2 separate regions of the Homo sapiens genome follow, and region 1 is linked to region 2. Evidence: promoter capture Hi-C in 16 types of primary human blood cells and fetal thymus (Javierre and others, 2016). All regions are on one chromosome and are shown on one strand. Each heading gives the region's core, a stretch centred on a gene start or on the middle of the fragment in contact. The rest is flanking DNA. Distances are from core to core; before and after follow the strand shown. Region 1 overlaps CHD1 (chromodomain helicase DNA binding protein 1). Region 2 holds the start of ERAP1 (endoplasmic reticulum aminopeptidase 1).

The links. The method cuts DNA at HindIII sites, captures the fragments that hold promoters and counts their contacts. A CHiCAGO score of 5 or more calls a contact.
Region 1: a fragment that was not itself captured here is called in contact with the fragment with the promoter of ERAP1 in region 2 in 1 of 17 cell types (fetal thymus); the score reaches 5.1 in fetal thymus.

The regions. Positions count from the first base shown.
Region 1 is chr5:98,918,877-98,924,932 of GRCh38, reverse strand. All of the region lies in intron 2 of CHD1 (chromodomain helicase DNA binding protein 1), which reads left to right. Among named protein-coding and RNA genes, the nearest start is that of CHD1-DT, 6.7 kb to the left of the region's middle. The HindIII fragment of the contact is 2,275 bases long and covers 2,650-4,924 here.
Region 2 is chr5:96,806,695-96,812,180 of GRCh38, reverse strand. It overlaps ERAP1 (endoplasmic reticulum aminopeptidase 1), which reads left to right and starts at 4,236. Exons shown (of 19, transcript NM_001040458.3): 1 at 4,236-4,321. LOC124901033 (a long non-coding RNA gene) reads right to left here and starts at 4,723. Exons shown (of 3, transcript XR_007058879.1): 1 at 3,604-4,723; 2 at 167-353. RefSeq lists enhancers at 3,556-3,625, 3,782-4,281, 4,282-4,783 and a silencer at 4,356-4,815. The HindIII fragment of the contact is 13,314 bases long and covers 1-5,486 here.

The sequences.
Region 1 (6,056 bases), core at 2,538-5,037, 2.1 Mb before region 2:
GATCCCGGCTCACTGCAACCTCCACCTCCCAGGCTCAAGTGTTTCTCCTACCTCAGCCTCCGGAGTAGCTGGGATTACAGGCGCTAGCCACCACTCCCAGCTAATTTTTGTATTTTTTTTGTAGAGATGGGGTTTCGCCACATTGGCCAGGCTGGTCTCGAACTCCTGGCCTCAAGTGATCCACCTGCCTCGAGCTCCCAAAGTGCTGAGATTATAGGCATGAGCCACCACGCCAGGCCTGACACTTGGAATTTTCTGACCTTGCTAGTTATACTTTAGTTTATCAGCTTTCATACATACTGTTTGGATAAGCAAGAACATCATAGAGAATAAAATAAGGAACAGTTATGGAAAGCAGCATTATTACTTGAACAAGTATTGGTCTAGGAGTTATACAACCTGAGTTGATGCTATCTCTGCATTAATTAAAACTCATATGATTGCCTCAACTCTAAGGATTGAACTGATATTGAAGTTTCATTTTAATTAATTACAAAGTGCATCGTAAAGTTTCAAACAGTAAAGTTTTACTAGAATCACCAGAGTTGAGGTTTAATTAAAAGACTTTTGAATCTGAGCTTTGATTCAAATCTCTATAGGTATGTTGACTACTGACTATAGTTAAGTAAATAGAAGAGTCATATTGTCCACCCACAATTTTTTTTTTCTTTTCTTTTCTTTTGAGACAGGGCCTCACTCTGTCACCCAGGCTGGAGTACAGTTGTGTAGTCTCAGCTCACTGCAGCCTCTGCCTCCACCTCCTGGGCTCAAACGATTCTCCCACCTCAGCATCCTGAAAGGCGTGCATGCCACCACACTCAGCTAATTTTAAAATTTTTTGTAGAGATGAGGTCTCACCATATTGCCTCAGCTGGTCTTGAACTCATGGGCTCAAGCAGTCCTCCCACCTTGGCCTCCCAAAGTGTTGGGATTACAGGTGTGAGCTGCCACACCCGGCCTCACATTTTCTTATTCATAGTTGGAATGGAATGGTTAGTAGGTAGAAATACCTAGAGGAAACAAAGGAACCAAACTATTCATAAAATAGGAGATAAGACTCGAGAGTAAATCTTCTAGTTGGATATGCAGACAGATCATGTGCTGGTATATTCTGACTACTTACCTGTTCCAATATTTTATATATTTTTCTGCCATATCTAAAGCGAGGAGGAGTAATAAGTCCAATTTGATACTACAGGTGAAAAAAAATTAAACCTTGTGGCCGGGTGCGGTGGCTTACGCCTGTAATCCCAGCACTTTGGGAGGCCGAGCAGGCAGATCACCTGAGGTTGGGAGTTCGAGACCACCTTGACCAACATGGAGAAATCCTGTCTCTACCAAAAATACAAAATGAGCTGGGTGTGGTGGCCTGTAATCCCAGCTGCTCGCGAGGCTGAGGCAGGAGAATTGCTTGAACCCAGGAGGCAGACGGAGGTTGCAGTGAGCCGGAGATTGCGCGATTGCACTCCAGCCTGGGAAACAAGTGAAACTCCGTCTCAAAAAAAAAAAAAAAATTAAACCTTGCGAAATCAAATTTAAGGAATCTTTTACAATGCATACTCATCTTAAATAATTGCAAAGCATATTTCTTTAATTATTCGGAGTTGTTAATTCTGCTATACAGGTTTTGTGTGCTTCTGAAAAGTGTGGTTATCAAGTTATCTAGTTTTTACAACTGCCTTGGAGTTTATCAGGAGAGAGACCTTCTTTTTTGCCTTCATTTTCTTTCTTACCGCTGCTATACTATGCTCTACTGTCATTAACACTCAATTCCCACTCCCTTCCCCAGAAGCTTTTGTCATAAGACATTACAAAGAAGGGAGATTGTGCCTAGTTAAAAGACTGAGGAGGTGAACTTTAGAGGTAGAGGGATTTTCTTGCAAAAAAAACTAAAGTTTCTATAACTATGAATATTAATATAGAGTAATTTTTTTTCTTTTTTTTGAGCCAGAGTCTTGCTCTGTCGCCCAGGCTGCAGTGCAGCGGTATGACCTCGGCTCACTGCATCCTCCGCCTACCGAGTTCAAGCAATTTTCCTGCCTCAGCCTCCCGAGTAGCTGGGACTACAGGCATGCACCACTGCATCCAGCTAATTTTTGTATTTTTAGCAGAGACGGTGTTTCGTCATGTTGGCCAGGCTGGTCTCGAACTCCTGACCTCAGGTGATCTGCCCGCCTTGGCCTCCCAAAGCACTGGGGATTACAGGCATGAGCCACCGTGCCTGGCCCCTAATATAATTAGATTAGAAATATACTTTGTTTCTAAAGTTGATATTCATTGTAAGTAGCTTTTTAAAGTAAATTTTGGTTTTTTAGTGGCTAGAATTCTATAATGTATTTTTGCTTCAAAATTTCCTTTTTCTTTTGTGAAAGTTTATTAAACGGAATAGAATTAAGAAAGAATTCATTTGGCATTTGCAGGTTACAGTTAGCTTTCTACTGAAAAAAAAAATTTTTAACTATTCTTTCTGTCTGGAGATCTCTCTATAACTATTCACTGAAAGGAAGAAGAATACACAGGAAAAATATGTCTCTTTTGCTATGCTATTGCTGACAGTCTTGAAATTTAGTTACTAAGAAATGTGGGCCAGGATGCACCTGTATAACAGTTACAGCTCAACACAAAGTTTTATGTAACTGAAGTTAAGCTTTTTAAAGATAATGCTGGAAGATTTCAAAGCATCAATTTGCAGCTGTGTGGATTTGTGGTGGTATTTGCAAGCAAATTTTTCAAATCCTGGTAGACTTTTTTTTAGTGTGTGTGTGGTTTGTTTTTTTTTAATTGAGATGGAGTCTCACTGTTGCCCAGGCTGGAGTGCAGTAGCACGATCTTGGCTCACTGCAGCCTCCGTCTCCTGTGTTCTGGCAGTTTTCTGCCTCTGCCTCCTGAGTAGCTGGGATTATAGGTGCCCGCCACCATGCCCCGCTAATTTTTGTATTTTTAGTAAAGATGGGATTTCACCATGTTGGCCAGGCTGGTGGTCTTGAACTCCTGACCTTGTGATCCACCCACCTCGGCCTCCCAAAGTGCTGGGATTACAGGCATGAGCCACTGCGCCTGGCTGACTTTTTTTAGTTTTAAATAAGTTATCTTGAGTGATGATTTACTTCAGGAATGGCTATATGGTTAAAGATCAGAATGGTGTATGAGTTACCTTTCAAAGATTACTTTTCTGTATGTAGTCATAATGTGTGGGCAAACATTAATGTGATGTTACCCCTTTTACTCTGCTTAAGTAGCTGCTTGTTTAAGATCTTGATGACTGATTGGTTATATATGGTGCAGTTTTGTGTTTTAAAATGAGTATTACTTTATGATGAATGGAGAAAATGTTTAACCTTTTTTTAAAATGGGAAATATTTAAAACTACAGAAATAGAAAAGTTGCACCAGTTGTGGTCCGTGGACCAGCGGTGTTGGCATCATTTGGGAGCTTATTATAACTGTAGAACCTTGTGCCTCGCCCCAGACGTACTGAATCAGAATCTTCATTTTAACAAGATTCTAAGTGATTCTTATGTATTAAGTTCATATACATTTATATGAAGCTATTCATCTGGAGTCATAGCATCTTGCCACTTTGTTATTGATGTTGTTATACATGGTTTTCATTCTCTGCGAACCTCCAATTAATTGTGTCTTGAGCAGGACTAGCAAGAGGCTAGGTAAGTTTCGTTTCTCCGGAAGCAGTAACAATGGCAACTGATGATTGTTGAGCTCTTGCTGTGCCTTAACCTAGCATGATGCACATAGGGCATTGTGCATTACTTGAATTGTCACAGTTCATCCTCACAAAACTTCTGTGATGTATACATTGTTATGATTCCCACTTTCCAGATGGGGAAACAAGATTTATAGCCATTTTATTTATTTTTTTATTCTTTTTTAAAAAACTATTACCTAAACTCTATACTTGGATTTCATTGATTTTTCCATTAACTCCCTCTTTTCTGTTGTAGGATTAAATCCAGAGTGCCACATTGCATTTAGTTGTCACGTCTCCCCAGTCTCCTTTCATCTGTGAGAGTTTCTAAGTCTTTCCTTAGTTTTCATGGTCTAAACCATCTTGAGAAATACTGGCCAGGTATCCTGTAGAATGTTTTTGAAATCTAGATTTGTCTTTTTTTTTTTTTTTTTGAGACGGCGTCTTGCTCTGTTGCCCAGGCTGGAGTGCAATGGCACGATCTCACCTCACTGCAACCTCCGCCTCCTGGGTTCAAACGATTCTCCTGCCACAGCCTCCCGAGTGACTGGGACTACAGGTGTGCACCACCATGCCTGGCTAATTTTTGTATTTTTAGTAGAGACAGGGTTTCTCTGTGTTGGTCAGGCTGATCTTGAACTCTTGACCTCAGGTAATCCACCCACCTTGGCCTCCCAGAGTGTTGGGATTACAGGTGTGTGAGCCACCACACCTGGCCTTGTCTATTGTTCTTAGGATAAACTAGGGTTATTGGTTTTTAGAAAGAATACCACAAAGATAAAGTGTGCTAGTCACATCATATGGGAAACATGTTATCCTCATGACATTACTGGTGGTGTTAACCTCTCACTTGGTCAAGGTAGTATTTGCAAGTTTCTCTACTGTAAAGTTACTGTTTTTCCCTTTCCATAATATATTCTTTGGAAGCAAGTCATTTTGTCTAGCCTACTTTCAAGAGGGTTGGGATAGGAATTAAATTCCATCTCCTGGTGGGGGGAGTATTTACATATATTAAATGGAATTTCTGTAAGGAAATTTCTAAATCGTTTATATATGTATGGATTTATGTATGTGCTTTGAGTTGTAATCCAGCTTAGTGGATTACAACTCTATAAAATATATATTTGTATATATTTATGTATAATAGGTATTTTATGTATCTATTGTATAATAGTTGACTTTTTTGTTACTTAAATTGATCTAGCCTTGGCTCTTGGAAGCTTTTTTAGGTTGGCTCGTATGTTTCTTTTACACACTGCCTTACTTTTACCCTAGAATCAGCCACTCTCCAAGGAGCCTTGGTTCCATTTTTTTGGAGAATGGCATTAGAAACCAAGATTTGGGTACTGGGTGTGCTTGTTGATATTCAAGTGTCACTGCTTTTATTTCCTCTCAGTGAACAAAGTAGACAGAGCTAGGTAATATATGTAGATATATTATGTATACCTACGTATCTATAGTCATTTCTGTATCCTTACGTCTGTATACATATTATCTCATACATAAACGTGAGTTCATACCGATGGCTCCAACTCTAATCCTGTGCTATAGGGTTCATTCTAACCTTTCTTTCTTATTGCTTTGTAACTTCCTTACTCAACATTGAGAAACCTGGCTCTGACCATCCACCATTTATCTGCTTATATATTCACTCATAATATACATGTAAAGCAGTTTTAGAATTTTTAGGATATACTTTATCAAGAGAAACTAATTTCGCAACTAAAATACGGTGTTTACATACAGTACACTTTAATATTTAGCCTTTAAGTTTCTAGTCAAAACACTGTTTTCTGATGTTGGTCAAGTTCATTTTTCTCTCACCCCTTTGAGTGTAATTATGTGATAAATTTATAATAAAATTAGATTCATTTGTCACAATCTGCATTCCATCCTGTGATCATCATCATACTGGTTGATTTTTAAAATTTGCATATATTAATGCTTATTCAATGATGCACAGTTCTTTGGGTTTTGACAAGTGCATAGAATCATTTTTTCTGTACTCCAGTAATGTACAGAACAATTCCTTCATCTTAAAAGGTCCCAGATCTACTGAGCCAGAATTTCCATTTTAATAAGATTCCCAGGAGAATTGTATTCATGTTAAATTCATATGCATGTATATGAAGCTATTCACCTGTAGTCATTCAGCATCTTGCCATGTTGTAAAGTTATACATTAACTTCAAGAAAGATTATTATAATCTAGGGGTGATAATGGAATAGCCAGTTTAAATATGCAATTGAGTATATTCAAATTTGTGGGGCCAAATGGGCATGCAAGTGAGGTAAAAAGAAAATGGAGGGTAGATTACTAGAGTCATTTAATGAGCTATTTGGAAAGTTTTCATA
Region 2 (5,486 bases), core at 2,987-5,486:
AATTGTGATTCTCCAGTAGATAAATGGACAAGAAACATAAACATATAATTCTCAAAAGAGAAAACACAAAGCAAAAACGGCTAATTAACATATGTTCAGTGCATATATTCAGTCTCATTAGTGATGAAAGAAATACAAATTTAAGAAATATGTCATGGTGACTTACCTCCTTGTTGACACGAGCAAAGGTAAAAGCAACAGGAATACAGAAGACTGGCTAGAGAGCAGTTAGATGGGCCTGTCACCTACTGAGGAAGGTTGGAGACAGGTGGATTCCCTGGGTTCTGTAAGGCTGCAAGAACTGGAAACATGCTCAGGTTACCTTAGACAGCAGTATCTTGTGAAATAAATGCCTGAGGGAGGGAAAATGGGAAACATGTGATCAGTCCTCGTGGCACCTAGAATGTTCTTCAGGATCCACAATTCTAGAAGTTCAAGGGCAGCTGTGGTCACTCAACTTGCTTGAGTTGTTCCTACAGAATCTGGCATACATTGCTCGCTCCCATAGTGCTCTGTTGTATGGTAATACAGGACTCTCTCTGAAGACTGACTCCAACTGGCTAAATCAAAAAGGAAAGCATTGGTCCTCTTGAATGGAAGGTCTAAGGACAGGATTTGCTCAGGACAGCTGGAGCTGAGGGCTTTAGTGGAGGTATTCTCTGTCTCTGTCAGCCCTGCTGTCCTTTGAACTGGCTTCACTTTAAAGCAGGCTTTTTCCATGTGGTGGCCCCTGGTAGGTCACTTCACATCTCTAATCCTGTTTCCTCATTCTAGAAAAATGGAGCTACTAGCCACCTGCATAAGTACAATGTGAGGATCCCATGAGATAGACTATATGTAAATGCTTTCAAGCTGCCACATTTCAGAGGACTTTATTATTTGATATGAGCTCAGTGGCCTGTTTTGGAACAGTCTTTAACATGGCATCTGTACCGTCTTCCCTGTTTCTGATTATTAATAAGATGGTATTGCTTTTGTTAAGCAAGCCTGCTCTGCAACTTGGCACAGAGGGGGAAAAAAGTCATCCTCTTTATCAAGAATATCAAGAATGAGGGGCATTATTATTTTTTTTTAAATTGGCATTTAAAAAAATTAAGTTCTAAGGCCCTGGGAGCCTATGGAAGAGTCTCAAGGACCACAATGTGTGTGGAAGGGCCGGATAGCAGTGGGCAAGGCTGACTGGGTGGAGCTGCCCTGTTTAATAAGAGCAGGCCTGCTTTTGTCTGTTTTCTACACCATGATTCTGGATGAGATTTTACATCAAAAAGGAGAGTGGTAATATGATTAAAATAGGAGCAGCTTTGGCAGCAAAACAGAAGAAATGAGCCAAACGCTGACATTAATTGACTAAAAGCTAATGAAAGCAGAACTGAATCAATCAATTACAGCAAAATTGAACATCACTTGACAATATCTAGAATTCAATATTTTTTAAGTAGATCAGTAATAGCTCAAAGTGGTATGTATTTCATTGGCCTAGGCCTGAAATTCTCCTCATTCCTCTGGCTCACCTCTGGGACTAAGGACACTGAGAAGCCTCTGCAATGGATGGGCTCAACCGGCCAACCAGCCCTCCTACACTATATGGTATACAATATTAGTGTTTACCAACCCCTCCTTGTTCTGGCCAATGCAATGTGAGTAGAATTAGTGTGTGTTTTCTCTTTGACTCTGAGCAAGTTGCCGACCTGTCTCATTTTTCTCATCTATAAAGCATAATATCTACATTACAGGGTTGCTGAAGAGATCAAATTATAAACACACACATGCACACATAGCTAGCATTTAACAGTATCTAACAGTTGGTAGGGAATCAATAAACCTAGGTACCCTTTCTCTCTGTTCCCTTCCTTCTAACCATTTCTAAGCTCGGTAATGTGCTGTTTTGATCTCACAGGCTCTAGAACTAGGACTCCTTAAAGTCCTTACTCCAAGGTCTGTGTCCTCTACATCCCTGCTAGGGCTTTGAAACTAGAAGTGAATGCTGCCAAATCCTCTGACTTATCGCTCTTTGTAGTGCACTTCAACTCTAAAGACGAAATCACGGCCAGGGCGACAGGCTAAAGTCTGAGTCAGGGTGAGCTTTTGGGGAAACGGCGTGGAGCGGGTGGTGGTGTCAGCTCTCTCCTCGCCTACACTTCAGCTCCTTTCTGCCCACATCCATTCAGGGCATTGCCCTGTTTGTCTCCTCAGCTGTCTTCTGTATTAACCTCCAGCCTGTTGGGTGCATTCAGTTCTGCCAGCTGGACTTTCAATATGTATTTAAAAAGACACATAAACAAAAAACAAAAACAAAAACAAAAAAACTTTACTAGAAGCCAAAGGAAAACCATCATATTCAAAAATATAAATATAAAAGCAAAGAAATGCATACATTTACTGGACAAAGAGGTCTCATCTTGAGTAAACTGGGAGCACTCCGAGATGTCTGGAGGTCTTGGAGGCTACACGCTATCCATTGATACCTCCTGTCAAATTCTGAACATGCAGAAATTACCAGATCTCAAAGTCCTCATTTCTTGTTGAATTTTAGTGAAAAAAACTTCCCTGGATCCCACCGTAGTTGAGTCTTGGAACAGGGTGTTAATCTTTATATTATAAAATGTCCTTGACTAGAGATAATAGGCAGTATGAAACATTATATTTTTAAAAAGGAAACATAATATTGAAAAAAAAAGAGAAATACTGTTGCAGTGACTTGGAATCCCCAGTTCTCAAAGGGAAGAAGGCCAATAAAGAAGTGGGAGAAGAAAGTCTGAGAACCGCATGAAAAGGGTCCTGTTCCCACTAGGACCATGGTCCACTCACCAAATTATCAGAGACGTTTGAACCAGAGCAACTCCATCTTGAATAGGAGCTGGGTAAAATAAGGCTGAGACCTACTGGGCTACACTCCCAGGAGGTTAGACATTCTAAGTCACAGAATGAGATAGAAGGTAGGCACAAGACACAGGTCATAAAGACCTTGCTGATAAAACAGGTTGCAGTAAGGAAGCTGGCCAAAACCCACCAAAACCAGGATGGCAATGAGAGTGTCCTCTGGTCGTCACTGCTACGGTCTCACCAGCTCCATGACAGTTTACAAATGCCACTGCAACGTCGGGAAGCTACCCTATATGGTCTAAAAAGGGGAGGCATGAATAATTTCCCCCGCTTAGCATATAATCAAGAAATAACCCTAAAAATGGACAACCAACAGCCCTTGGGGGTGCTCTGCCTATGAGTAGCCATTCTTTTATTCCTTTAGTTTCTTAATTACTTGCTTTCACTTTACTCCATGGACTCCCCTCAAATTCTTTCTTGCGCAAAATCCAAGAACCCTCTCTTGGGGTCTGGATCGGGACCCATTTTCGGTAATAAACTTGTAGCATTTGGTGTTTTAATGTTTGTGTTTTCTTGACTTGTTACCTCATTTAGCCTCAACTGTTTAAAGATGGTCTTTTTGGCCATTTTATTCAGCTTTAATTGTTCTAAGGGGAGTGAAGAAATGGTCATTTACTTTGAAAAATCAGAGGGAACGTGTTGATGCGGGAAGCAGCTAATCCTTGGGGTACAGTGGCCCTTGGTAGTGCAGGAAAGTCCTGGGGGCCACCTCTAACCCACCTTCCTCCTCTACAGCATCTCCCACTGTAGTCATTCTCTACCGAAGCCCCAGAAGGTGCGGCACTTTGCCACGACAGAGTACTGGGTTCATGTTTCTTTCCGAGGCGGGCCAAGAGCTCTCAGCCCACTGGCAGTGGCGAGATGACGGACACCCAGCGAGTCCAATGGGCGTCGAACGCGTCTAGGCTTGGTGGACTTGTCAGCGCCTGCCTGGCTTCGGTCCCCAACTTGAGCACCGGCCCTTTCCTGCATGCCCCTAACCCTCGCAACGCTAAACAGTGAAAAAAAAAAAAAGACAAAAACAAAAAGCATCTCAACACACACACACACACACACACACACACACACACACACACACACACACACACACACACACACACACACACACACGGATCCGCGTTCAGAAAGGCGTGCACTTCCTACGCCTGATCCCCCGCATCGCAACCTCGCAGCTTCCCCGGCGTGCAGCGCTCATTTACCAATTCCCTTCCTGGGAGTTGCGGCTTCCCTCGCTCGGCCCCACTCCCGTTTACCCTTTCCCCAGCTCCCGCCTTAGCCAGGGGCTTCCCCGCCTGCCGCTAGGGCTCGGGCCGAAGCGCCGCTCAGCGCCAGCCTGCCGCTCCCCGGGCTCCACTTTCACTTTCGGTCCTGGGGGAGCTAGGCCGGCGGCAGTGGTGGTGGCGGCGGCGCAAGGGTGAGGGCGGCCCCAGAACCCCAGGTACAGCGCGCTCGAGCCGCGGGTAGGGGACTGCGGGCCGGGAGGAGAGCGCGGCACCCGCCCCTTCCCTGCGCCCGTCAAGTGGGGGGCTGAGGGCCTGGGGCACGGGAGGAGGGAGACGGGGCACGGGAGGAGGGAGACGGGGCGCGGGAGGAAGGCGACGGGGCGCGGGAGGAAGGCGACGGGGCGCGAGACAGGGCGCGGGAAGGGCGGGGGGAGTCGCTGGCTAGGCCCGAGTCCGCGGGGTGCCCGGCGGGTTGGCGGCGGGCCCACCCCTGCCGGTCCCTGTCCCTGTCCCTCCGGGCGCGTGGCCGGTGCGCCTGCTTCACGGGTCTCCCCGCTGTTCGGCCGGCGGGAGCCTCCCTCAGCGCTCCGCCTGGCGCCTGGATGCCTGCCAGTCCTGCAGGCCACCGACGCCCGCGCGAGGCCAAAAGGCGGGGTGGGGCGGGCAGCTGGCTCGGGCTGAGGAGGGCACCTGCCCATAGCTGCTAGAGAAACCCAGAGGCTTTGGGTTAAAGACTCTGGTGGGGTGGGATGCGCGGGCCGTGTGTGTTCTTAAGGTCACTTCCCTCCCTGCTTCTCCTGTTCTTCTGGTCAGCAATTCTCTCTCTCCCCTTCGCTCTGGCTCTGGCTGGGTTTTATTCAGATAAAGCACCTCTGTTGACGCAAATTAAAAGTTTCCTATCTGGGTGCCTCACTGGCCAGGTGGTCCTACAAAGTTAATTCCATGAGGGGAAGGGGGAGAGCACACACTTCCTCACGCTTTTGGATTTCTTTGTGTAGGCTAGGTTCAGAAAGAAATTATCTGTTTCCTATTAAACACCCAGAGGATTCGCTCTGAACTCAGGACGTGGTCAACAATTAACAAAACAACAAAACAAAACAAAACAAAACAAAAAACTTGAAAATTGGGCACAGTTGTCTCTTGCCTGAGGATTTTTAATTAGTATAAGTAGCACATTTTCAGGTGCGGCCTGAATAGAAACATTCTAGTACTTTTTTTTTTTTCAAATTAATCCAGCATTTTTATTATTTACCAACAGTGCTTGTTAATTTCATTGTTCAGGAAATTCTGGAAGAACCTCAATTACTTCTTGATGATCTATTTCATATACTATAGTGCCCCAATAAAAGGAAGGGAGGCAGAGGTTGCAGTGAGCCAAGA